Regions from separate parts of the Homo sapiens genome. Here region 1 is linked to region 2. Evidence: promoter capture Hi-C in 16 types of primary human blood cells and fetal thymus (Javierre and others, 2016). All regions are on one chromosome and are shown on one strand. The core of a region is centred on a gene start or on the middle of the fragment in contact, and the rest is flanking DNA. Distances in the headings are between cores, read along the strand shown. Region 1 overlaps ELOVL6 (ELOVL fatty acid elongase 6). Region 2 holds the start of HADH (hydroxyacyl-CoA dehydrogenase).

What was found. The method cuts DNA at HindIII sites, captures the fragments that hold promoters and counts their contacts. A CHiCAGO score of 5 or more calls a contact.
Region 1: a fragment that was not itself captured here is called in contact with the fragment with the promoter of HADH in region 2 in 1 of 17 cell types (total B cells); the score reaches 5.0 in total B cells.

The regions. Positions count from the first base shown.
Region 1 is chr4:110,190,755-110,196,521 of GRCh38, forward strand. All of the region lies in intron 1 of ELOVL6 (ELOVL fatty acid elongase 6), which reads right to left. Among named protein-coding and RNA genes, the nearest start is that of ELOVL6, 5.0 kb to the right of the region's middle. RefSeq lists an enhancer at 5,559-5,767 and a silencer at 5,588-5,697. The HindIII fragment of the contact is 1,138 bases long and covers 3,071-4,208 here.
Region 2 is chr4:107,986,611-107,992,047 of GRCh38, forward strand. HADH (hydroxyacyl-CoA dehydrogenase) reads left to right here and starts at 3,279. Exons shown (of 8, transcript NM_005327.7): 1 at 3,279-3,454. The coding sequence starts at 3,323. RefSeq lists a silencer at 3,046-3,275. The HindIII fragment of the contact is 11,946 bases long and covers 1-5,437 here.

The DNA.
Region 1 (5,767 bases), core at 2,390-4,889, 2.2 Mb after region 2:
TCAGCCTCCCACAGCGCTGGGATTACAAGTATAAGCCACCATGCCCGGCCACTTTTTTTTTTTTCAATTTTTGTGTTTTTTTTGAGACACAGTTTTGCTCTGTTGCCCAAGCTGCATTGCAGTGGCATAATCTCAGCTCACTGCAACCTCCGCCTCCAGGTTCATGCCATTCTTGTGTCTCAGCATCCAGAGTAGCTGGGACTACAGGTGCGTACCACCATGACCAGCTAATTTTTGTATTTTTTGTAGAGACAGGGTTTCGCCACTTTGACCAGGCTGGTCTCGAACTCCTGACATCAAGTGATCCGCCTGCCTCGGCCTCCCAAAGTGCTGGGATTACAGGTGTGAGCCACCATACCCGACCCATACAATACTTTTTAAAAAAGGACCCATGTATCTCTAAAATAAATTATTGGAGGGTAAATATAATTAGAGATGCTGGGTTTTTTTAAAGTTCTCAGAAACCTCAATAACTATGCCAACATTTGTACCTGCCTGAATACATGTACAATCAGAATCTGGATAAAGGAATGAAGTTATGAGTTTTAACATTACAATATAGCCAAGTCATAGTTTCACTCAGATTACCTAGGGTTATCAACAGAAATGACATATGTGGTACAGGTAACTTTCCCTAAACCCTCCTAAAAAAGATAAATGAGAAGTAAATGGGAGCGGGTGGATGTGAGCTACATAAAGAGTAAAGGGAGGGCTGAGGCAAACTTTGTAGAATGATGTCTGGTTCCTATTAATAAAGGACAGTTTGGCTCACCTGTGTCCATATGTGAAAAATTAAGTTAATCATTAAGACAATGTTTGGTTAACTCATTTCAGAAAATAAAATACTTGGACCTGAAATATTTCAGATCACTTAAGCCAAGATAAATTCCTGAATTGCCAGAATGGTGCCACACTCATTTTACTTTGTTGTCTAAAGACTGATTAGATGGGGGGCCGGGCACCTGTAATCCCACCTACTCAGGAGGCTGAGGCTTGAACCCAGGAAGCAGAGGTTGCAGTGAGCCAAGACCAGGCTCAAAAAAAAGAAAAGAAAAAGAAAATTGATTAGATGGTTATTGTATATCCCCCTAAGTATTTCAAAACCTCCGTCCCCCTCATAACTCTTCCACTATCTAAGCTGAAAGATTCCTCTGGCCGGGCATGGTGGCTCACACCTGTAATCCCAGCACTTTGGGAGGCCGAGGTAGGTGGATCACCTGAAGTCAGGAGTTCGAGACCAGCCTGACTAACATGGTGAAAACTCGTTTCTACTAAATACAAAAAAATCAGCCGGGTGTAGTGGCGCATGCCTGTAAACCCAGCTACTCAGGAGGTTGAGGTAGGAGAATCACTTGAACCCAGGAGGCAGAGGTTGCAGTAAGCCGAGATGGAACAATTGCACTCCAGCCTGGGCAACAAGGGCAAAACTCCATCCAAGAAAAAAAAAAAAAAGAAAGAAAGAAAAAAAAGAAAAAGAAAGATTCTTCTTTCAAGGAAGTATATAAGGCAACTCTTAGATATGGAATAAGTTGACTTTGAAGTTTCCAGCCATTTTTCTTACAAATGCACGCAGAAGGTTACGAGGAAGATTTCAGGAAGAAATTTAAAGCAATCCTCACTAAAGGAAAAACAACAGTGAAATACTATGTCTGCATTTGAAAAGTTTCATTAAGTTCCAATGTTATACACTTTGACACATTTAGAATCACCCTCAAACAAAAAAGCAACAGGCAATCCTCTGAAGATCACAAAATTTTACTTCCAATGTGAAAAAGACTTCATGAAAAAATTTTAAGCACTAATTATAACTAGTACAAATACACAGATGGATAATATAATCATAAAATATTTTGCATTAAGCTGGCTTTCATCCTTTGGAATCCTAAACAAGAATTGCATGAATATTTATAATTTATTAAAAGATACATGAAAGTTCATATCAAAGCTCCAGCACAACTTTACATTATTTTCTAGGACCCCACACAGATTACACGTTTTTTCTCTATGTATTTTCTCATTCTTCTCACTCTTAACCTAGTACATATGCCTACATCCCAGTGCTTTCTAAAAATTATTGAATGTCATGTTATGATCCTCACACAAGTTTTAATCCTAAATCAATATGAACTGTGATACCTCAAAATAAACAGCAAGTGACATGAGTACAATATAGACACACTATATTCCTACAGAGCTGACCAAATTTGTTGCTGCAATGTTAATGATGAAATGAAACTCTGGCCTACTCTGTTCCATAGTCACAGATGCACTGTTTTCCAGCCATTTTTCTTACAAATGAATGTAGAAGGTTGCAAGGAAGACTTCAGGAAGCAATTCAAAGCAATCCTCACTAAATGAAAAACAACAGCCAAATACTATGTCTGCATTTGAACAGTTTCATTAACATTATGCTGCTATATTTTTTATGCTGCTATATTTGAGTTAAATGCTAACACAGGTTTTTAGTGCTTTTTATGTTCTTTAATCATGAAATTGTACATCGTGTTACTTTCCAAACTTCACCTACAAAAAAGATATAGATGTACAACTCCTTTTAAAATGTTTCACGGCCGGTTGCAGTGGCTCAAGCCTGTTATCTCAGCACTTTCGGAGGCCGAGGTGGGCGGATTACTTGAGGTCAGGAGTTCAAGACCAACCTGACCAACACGGTGAATTCCCATCTCTACTAAAAATACAAAAATTAGCTTGGTGTCATGGCAGGCACCTGTAATCCCAGCTGCTTGGGAGGTTGAGACATAAGAATCACTGGAACCCGGAGGCAGAGGTTGCAGTGAGCCAAGATTGTGCCACTGCACTCCAGCCTGGGCAACAGAGTGAGACCCTGTCTCAAAAATAAAACAAAATAAAATAAAATGTTTCACTCCATTTTTACCTTTGGTAAAAACAAATTTGTGAATAAAAAGGCTTCCTCAGCTGAACAGCATTTAATTCTTAAAATTCCTATACTATCTTATAGACTCTATAATACAGAATACAAAATGTTAAAACAAGTAAACCCTTTTACACCACCAAGGGAGTGAGTGGGGAGAAAAGTCAGAAAAATATATAAAGCTTTGAAAGGCTGGATGTGTGGAGAATGCCAGGAGAGGGGGAGGGTTTCATGAAGTTCTAGGCAAGCCCTTTGAAGACGTCACCTCACATACATAATGTTACAGCAGTCAGCACAGGCCTCCTGCTTTCCTATTGGTGGGCACCGTGTCAGCCGACATCAGAAGATAATCATCATTGGCTAGACAATTACAACTGGAGCAACTAGCATCCACTGCTGTTAGCACAAACCTGGCAGGCTGCTGAAAGAGAAGGCAGAGAGAGCCCAGCTTCCCTTCTCACTCAATGAATTATATGTCGCCTTAGCAATCACCAGGTGATTTTGCTCCCTGGCTAGCAGCACTTCCAACTTAAGTCAGCTCTTAGTGAGAAAAACAGGTAAAGGCCAGACATCTCATAAAAGAGCAAAATGTCTCTATTTTCAATGTTGTAAAATTGCAAGGACTTTTCAGTGAAAATTAGAATTCAAAACTCCTATTTGGACCTATGAGCAGACATTTTTCTCTACCTCATGTAATAAACTCTCATTGACCAGATAATATAACCAGACAGGATATTTTTCACTGGACATGTAGTTTCAAGATGAGGCCCAGGATGATTCTACAAGGGAATACACTTATTACTTTGCATTTCAATTGCTATTCTAACCTATTATATATGAAACTTTTTGCTAGCAAAGTAAAAAAAGTCTGCAGTATTTACTTTCATGGCTAGGCCAATGAGTATGAGGTTAATGATTCATTAAAGCAGCAATAAACTTGAAAACTAGCCTCAGTTGAACCCTTTAGGGTTTATACAAATGCTACTCCAAAAGTCGGGCCCCATTCCATTAACACGTGCTATGGTTAGTAAGTATGGATTATAGGGTATGTTAACATTAATTTGCGCTATGGTTAGTAAGTATGGATTATAGCGTATGTTTAATAAAGTATTCTTATTTTAGGTCCTCTTAAATGATGCTAGTTAGCAAAGGCAGCATACTGGCAAAATACTACTCCTGGCCATTCTCACAGTTCTTCAAAAGCCAATGTAGTTCACTTTTGAGAGAGGATGTTTTAATTCTCTAAATTAACAAGTTTTGCCTGTTACTAAGAAGAGATTTATAAGGACAACCATAAATTCCCAAAAGACAGAGTAGAAGCTTCACTATATCATGTTTTTCCTCCAGAAGCTATTTCAAACCATTTTAAGTTAATGAGTCTGAAAAAGGTAAGATTTTATGGTTTCCTCAAGTTCCTCTCTCCTCAAGAGGGTCTAAGCCTTGGTTATGGAGTTCCCTTCTCCTATTAAAAAGGGAGTGAAAAGAAAATCTGGTTCAAGACTTTTTGTCCTGCATTAGCTGGATTCTATTAAAAATAAAAACTAAAAGCTTTAATTTGAACCTCCCGGGTTCAAGCAATTCTCCTGCCTCAACCTCCCGAGTAGCTGGGATTACAGGCACCCGCCACCACGCTCGGCTAATTTTTTTGTATTTTTAGTAGAGATGGGGTTTCACCATATTGGCCTGGCTGGTCTCGAACTCCTGTCGTCAGGTAATCCACCCACCTCAGCCTCCCAAAGTGCTGGGATTACAGGCAGGAGCCACCACACCCGGCTAATAAAATTAAATTTTAAAAAGTGTTTAAAGTCTTTTTGGCTGTACAGTTTTTGGGGAGGGAGGAGAGATAAAATTGGGCACCCTGGGATATTGGGAGAAATGCACAAAATCTGGCATTTAAAAAAAAACATGAAAGTAAGACAATTAGGGTCAGGAAGAGTTGCAAGGGAGGGGTAACAGCCAGCAGGGTTCTTTGACTGCAATAAGCAATCTAAGAACATAACATCAACAGAGAGCAGAAGCCAGGAAGGGAAAAATCCCAAGATGTGACTCTGCCACGGTATGCAAGTTCTAGCCTGTTAACCTTCGGGTATTAACGAGTAGTGCTGGCAATAAAATGGGCACCAATCACCATTTCAACTCACTGGACATTTTCTCAAGAATGTGCCTTATGCAAAGCACTCTGCTAGGTGCTTTGCAGAATCAAGAGTGGGATGACAAGAACCGTAACCTGAAGAGCTGATGGTCTGTAAGTTAATAACCATGTATATAACAGTAAAGGATATTGCCAGAAGAAAGGTACAGATAAAGAACTAGGAGGAAACAGTGGTCAGAACCTAACAGGAGTAGATACGTTGGCACATTTTTGTCATTTTCAGTCCCACGAGGGCTGAGACCTGTCTGGCTCAGTACTGAGTGAATGGAGAGAAGAGGCGGGAAATGGTACCTGAAGCAGGCCTAGGAAGTGGCCTCAGAGAAAAAGCAACAAGTAAATAAGAGGCAGTATCGACTGCAGTGGGCTAGGAATGGCGGGCGTACAGTGAATGGGGTCAGCCAGCAAAGCGAGGGAAAGCGGACTCCGGAAGAGCAGGTTAAACCAGGACGCAGCAAGTCAGAGATTCGGCACAGAAGCAAATGCTGACCACACTGACCACACAGGCTAATGCGGGAGGACTGTGGGCCCGAACAGGCCGGCTGGAGGATATGACAAACATGTGCGGAGAAGACCCGGGCCCGGGGCTAGCCAGCAGCGCGGTTCCGGCGCCCGCCGGCTCCGGCCACCGCCCCCTCCCCGCCTCCAGCACCACCCCCTAAGCGGGAGGAGGAAGTGCATCCAGAGAAGGACCCCGGGCGGTGGGGCTCGAGGGGCCTCGGCTGCCC
Region 2 (5,437 bases), core at 2,029-4,528:
CAATTGTACATAAAAGTAAAAAAAAAAAACTATCAGAATGATGCCTGCAAAAGGTATCTTGTGCTTCCGGGCATTGCATACTTAAGACGTTGGGGACTACCTATGTGGGTACAAATAATTGCTTGTGTGATTTCACTGGATTAAATCTAGCAAAGTCTTTTTACTAGATCCAGTGGTTTGCACCCTTACAACATGCTATATAGGGACCACAGAAGAGTAAGTTCACCACTGGATTTTATTCAGGAGCTATGCCAACTTGTGGGTGGACAAATTTAACTGACCTCGGCTCAAACACCACTAAGTGGCCCTCTTTTCAAGCCCCCAAGGGCCTACATTGGGTTGGTGGATAATCTGACCTGCCTTCTCTGTTGTTTCCTCACTGGTTCAGATCTTGCTATTTGGCCTGGCTCGCTCCTACATCCCAATAGCCTTCCCTGAAAGTTCCCATAATACCTTTCATAATCAGAGGTTAAAGCAGTCAATAACCAAAGTAAGCACCAACCTAAAAATAAATGAAGACAAGTTAGTTTCTACTGAGGAAAGGTTCCAATGGAGGTGCTGGAACTCACTCTTGGCATTAGCAGGGTGCCTGTTGTATGGAATTTGAAACTAATCTATAAATTGGGGAAAATCTTGAATTTGTAGCCAGTCAGACCTCCTAGGGGTTCACATGGTAGAAGCTACTCAAATATTCTCAGTGGATCAAAACATTTGTGTTCAACAAACACACTTCATGGAACATTACACAACTTTGGATCTCCTCTTTGCTCATGCTGGGGGCTCTTGCATGGTGCTGAATAAAACTGAATGTTGCACTTATTTTTCCTCTAATTTTACTACTATAGAAAACTTAATTTAAAAGGTGGCAGATACTGCTGTTTCTCTAAACACTGCCACTGAATATATTAAGGAAACTTCTCAGGGGAAAGGAACACATGATACATTTATGGGAGCAGCTAATGGTTGGTTTGTAGGCATCCTGAGTAGTGAAAGGCAAGCTAGGCTATTCCAAACTTTTCTAATCTTTATGCTTCTTTAGTGGCTCTCCAGGTTATTATAACTTGTGTTACCAGGCTAATTACAAAAATGGATACCTCTTTAAATCAGGCCATAAGGCTGAATCAGGTCATTCAGTGAACTATGGTCCTTGTAAAAAGTAAAGTAGAGGTTCCTTTTCAAAGACTTTCCTCCTCATCTGATTAGGAATAAATAGTAACCTCTCTTAGAAGCAAAATTTATTCAAAGACCTGTTAACATTCTTAAATATCTGCTAGCTGTAATAAAGAAATCAATGTACTTTATGTTCTTAGCTCCCACAATTTAGCCTAAATATTTGCCCTGGCATGCTTATACTGGTCCAAGTGGGCATTAGGTCATAGCCTGTTCCTCTTCCTTATTTAGAGGTGTTTTTCCCTTCTCAGCATTCCACAAGTTACTTCCTCCTTCCTTTGTTCTCCTCTGCCTTTGCCTCTTTTAAGAATTTCTAAGTTGCTAGCCAATCAAGACAAATACAGAATGTGAAGTCCCGTTCTAGCCAATGGAAACCAGTCACAACAGTAAGGTGGACGGGTCAGGTTATAAATGACCCTGCCTCCTTTGTTCGGTGTACTCTTGTGGCAAAACTGCTGGCGAGTGTACTCTTTCCGCAGAAAGTAAAAATGGCCTTGCTAAAGAAATTAATTTTATGTTCAAGTGCTATTTCTTTACGGCACCAAGAAATAAGCATTTCTAGCAGTCCTTAACCGCCATAATGCCCTAAATTAGACCATGACCAATTGGACTCAAATACTTTGAACTATCTTTATTGCCTGAACTTTGAATTGTTTAATTTTGATCAGTTCAGTTTGTGGAGACTCCTGTTAAGGTGTGTACCTCAGTTTATTGCTATACTCCTTCTCGTGGCCATAATAGTCTCCCTGATGTGTTGTTGTCCCCTCGAGAGTCTTCAATGTCTCTATGCAGCCATCCTTTGTACACCAAATGGTGTTATTACAGTTAGAATAACAACATGAAGAAAGTATAATCACTCAACTAATTTGACATTGTGACTTCCATACTGAGACAAAACAAGGTTCTGGTCAATCTCGTAAAACTGAGAGGCTGACCCAAAGGAGGAAACTGTTATTAAATTAAATCTGGCCTAAAGTTGCCTCCCTACCTAGCAAAGCATAATCAAACCTAATATGTAAATAAACTGCAATGTAATTTGAGAGTACGTTCTTCTAACAAGTGGCCAAGTCTTGGCCAATCACCGCAGCGGAGCTTTTAGCCCATTACAGGCTGCAAAAAATATTGTCTATAAACGCGGCTTGCCCACTGTTAGGGGCTGGAGCTCTCTGAACCTTTACTGGCTCAGGATACTACATGATTCATGCTTTCTTTGCTCAGATAAACTCTGCTAAACTTGTTTGAAGTTTTTTTGTTAACAATATTTAAACATAAAGCAAATAAATTAATAAGAATCCTATATCACTAAGTTACAGTAATTAGAAAGTATTCACCTGAGTGAGAAGATTGGCCAAGCTGCTATCCAGTCTTCCATTATTTGACAAGACATTTCTTTCCTATGCTTTCTAATAGTATTCGTTATTCCAGAAAGGTTGCTCTATGACCTTAAACCGTCCACATGTTCACTGCACTGATAGACGTCCAACGTCAAGATGGGTAACTAAAGGTCAACTCTCTCTTTACCTTCCCTGAGCCTGATTTTTGCATTGTAACTCATGGTCACTAGACATTTGTTTTGGGTGTTCGCAGTCTACATTTATTTCCCTTTTAGGGGAAACAATCACTGTCCACGGGATTAAAATAATCCCGAGTTGATTATTTGGTGACATCAACCAACGGTGCACATTTTGGGTCCATTACCAACACAGCCAAGCAGCACATATTTCTTCAGAGCCTAGATATGCACATGTCATCAAAGGATAGCATTTTACAGAGTCAACACCACTCACTTCATAGAACAAGGGGCCAGTGGCTTTTCAGAAGAAGGGTCTGTTCTCGGCCCCACACCAGAACGCCAGCCGCCAGGTCCCGCTGCTCAGCAGGTCTCAAGCCCGCGCTCACTCGGGCTCCGGCTGCTGACAGCTGCGAGCCCGCGCGTGTATACCCGCTCAACGCTGGGACGTTACAGCCAGGGCCAATGGGCAGAGCGGGACTCGAGGCCCCGCCCCCGCCTTGTGGCGTCACGGGGACGCCGGGGGCGCGCGGGCTGCAGGGCCGCGTAGGTCCCCGCCCCCAGAGTCTGGCTTTCCGCGGCTGCCCGCCTCGCGCGTCTTCCCTGCCCGGGTCTCCTCGCTGTCGCCGCCGCTGCCACACCATGGCCTTCGTCACCAGGCAGTTCATGCGTTCCGTGTCCTCCTCGTCCACCGCCTCGGCCTCGGCCAAGAAGATAATCGTCAAGCACGTGACGGTCATCGGCGGCGGGCTGATGGGCGCCGGCATTGCCCAGGTGAGCGGCCCTCCCTGCAGCGTGCCCACGCGCTTGGCCGCCCACCCTGAGGTGGAAGCTCTGGCGCGACCGGCCGCGAGGGGCCTGCACCCGCCCGACACCAGGGAGTTTTCACCCCGCGCCTCCCGGGTGTAGTTGAAATATCTCGCGTCTGGGCCTGTGAGGGCCCAAGTCTCACTCCCCTCAAAATTCAGGGTTCTGGGCCGATCCTCAGCTTCCTCGTTTGGAAAATTCTGGCTGCCCCCAGGGCCCGCTGAAGGTTCCATGGAGAGTGGCGGTGAATGCATTTTGGAAGCGGGCCGTGCAAGAGAAGAAAGAATTGTATGTGCACAAGGTTCAGGCATAACGCGTTTGTTCCTGCTCGGCTCAAACGGGAGTTTGCTGCCAAAGACATGAACTGCGATCAGTTTTAATTCTATCAGTTATTTTTGATTTTTATTCTGTAATTGTGCAGTCTTTGTCAAAGTAGTTTTCTCTCCTAAACGGCCTCCCGGCTCTCCCCGGTCTTTCCTTCGCTTGCTAGGTTGTAAAGAATAGTAGTAGTCATGACTTTTGTAGCACTTTGTAAAGTCACCTAATGGAAGATTGCTGAGGTCCTGGTTTTGACCTTTGAAATAGTGCCGTCTGTGCAGAGTTCTGAGCTTGCGATTTTGGCGCTGCAGCGGAATAAGTCTCTCTCTTTTTTTTTTTTTTTTTTTTTTTGAGTCGGAGTCTCTTTGACCCAGGCTGGAGTGGAGTGCAATGGCGCGATCTCGGTTCACTGCAACCTCCGCCTCCCGGGTTCAAGCGATTCTCCTGCCTCAGCCTCCCGAGTAGCTGGGATTACAGGCGCCCCGCCCGGCTAATTTTATATTTTTAGTAGAGACAGGGTTTCACCTTGTGGGTCAGGCTGATCTCGAACTCCTGACCAAAGGTGATCCGCCCGCCTGGCCTCCCGAAGTGCTGGGATTACAGGCGTTAGCCACTGCACCCAGCCGGAACAAGTCTTTTATCCATTGTACATCTTCAGGGCTTTTCCATTGTTCTGCTGAGCTGTGGTTCAGGCTCAGTTGTGCGAGTGATTGATTACCTGGCTACTGTAATGCTTGTACTTTTTTTTTTTAAAAATTATTCCATTTCAGCTCACATTGGAGAACCATGGTTTTCGTATCCTAGCTGATTATATTCTTAGCATTTCAGTCCTTTGCAACTTGGTTTGTTGGGGAAGGCGGTTATAGTCATCTAATTTTTCTTGGGGACAGTACTACTGTGGCTACAGTCATGAGAGAGTTTACTTTTTCAATGTCTTGTTTCCAACCAAGTCCACGCTTTCATGCTTGCTTTTTAAAAACAAAAACAAAAAAACCTTTTACTATTAGGTATTATATATCTCAATTTTCTTCTCCTTGGCAAGTTTTTTACAACGTTTTTATTTGATTGCATTTTCTTCTAAAAGCTATATCCCTGTAATGTTTTATTTATATGACTTCTTACAGTCTCCCATTTCCTCTGAGACCATAATTTTGGACATACATTGCCCTTTTTATTGTGTGGATCCCCTGGCTGCTAGGTTATAGTATCCCCATAATCTATGTTGTATGTGGACTGGGAGGAGTAACTCCCTTTAACCTAAAAGTTCCACAGGTTATACTCAAGAGAAAGTTTAGTTTGAGTACGTTTGTATTCCCAGGCTCCACCCAAATCTCCCAAGGCTGTGAGAGTGAGATTTGTTGTGAGCAGGAATAGAACAATGTGTTTTTTAGAAACATTTTAACAACATCTTAGTAACAAAATATTAGGGCCTTAAGCAGCCTCCAGGAACATTATGGGAAATGGATCCAGAAACTTGTGGCTGGTGTCCTTGAAGACAGCAGTGGAAAAAGATTAGAAACTAAGTAGAAAGCGTCACTTCAACTTTTGTAGAAAATCAGAGTGCTTAGTTCTTTGAATGCTGCATCCATCATTGGCCAAAAATGGATGTTGTGTTGCATTAAAAGGCAGAGG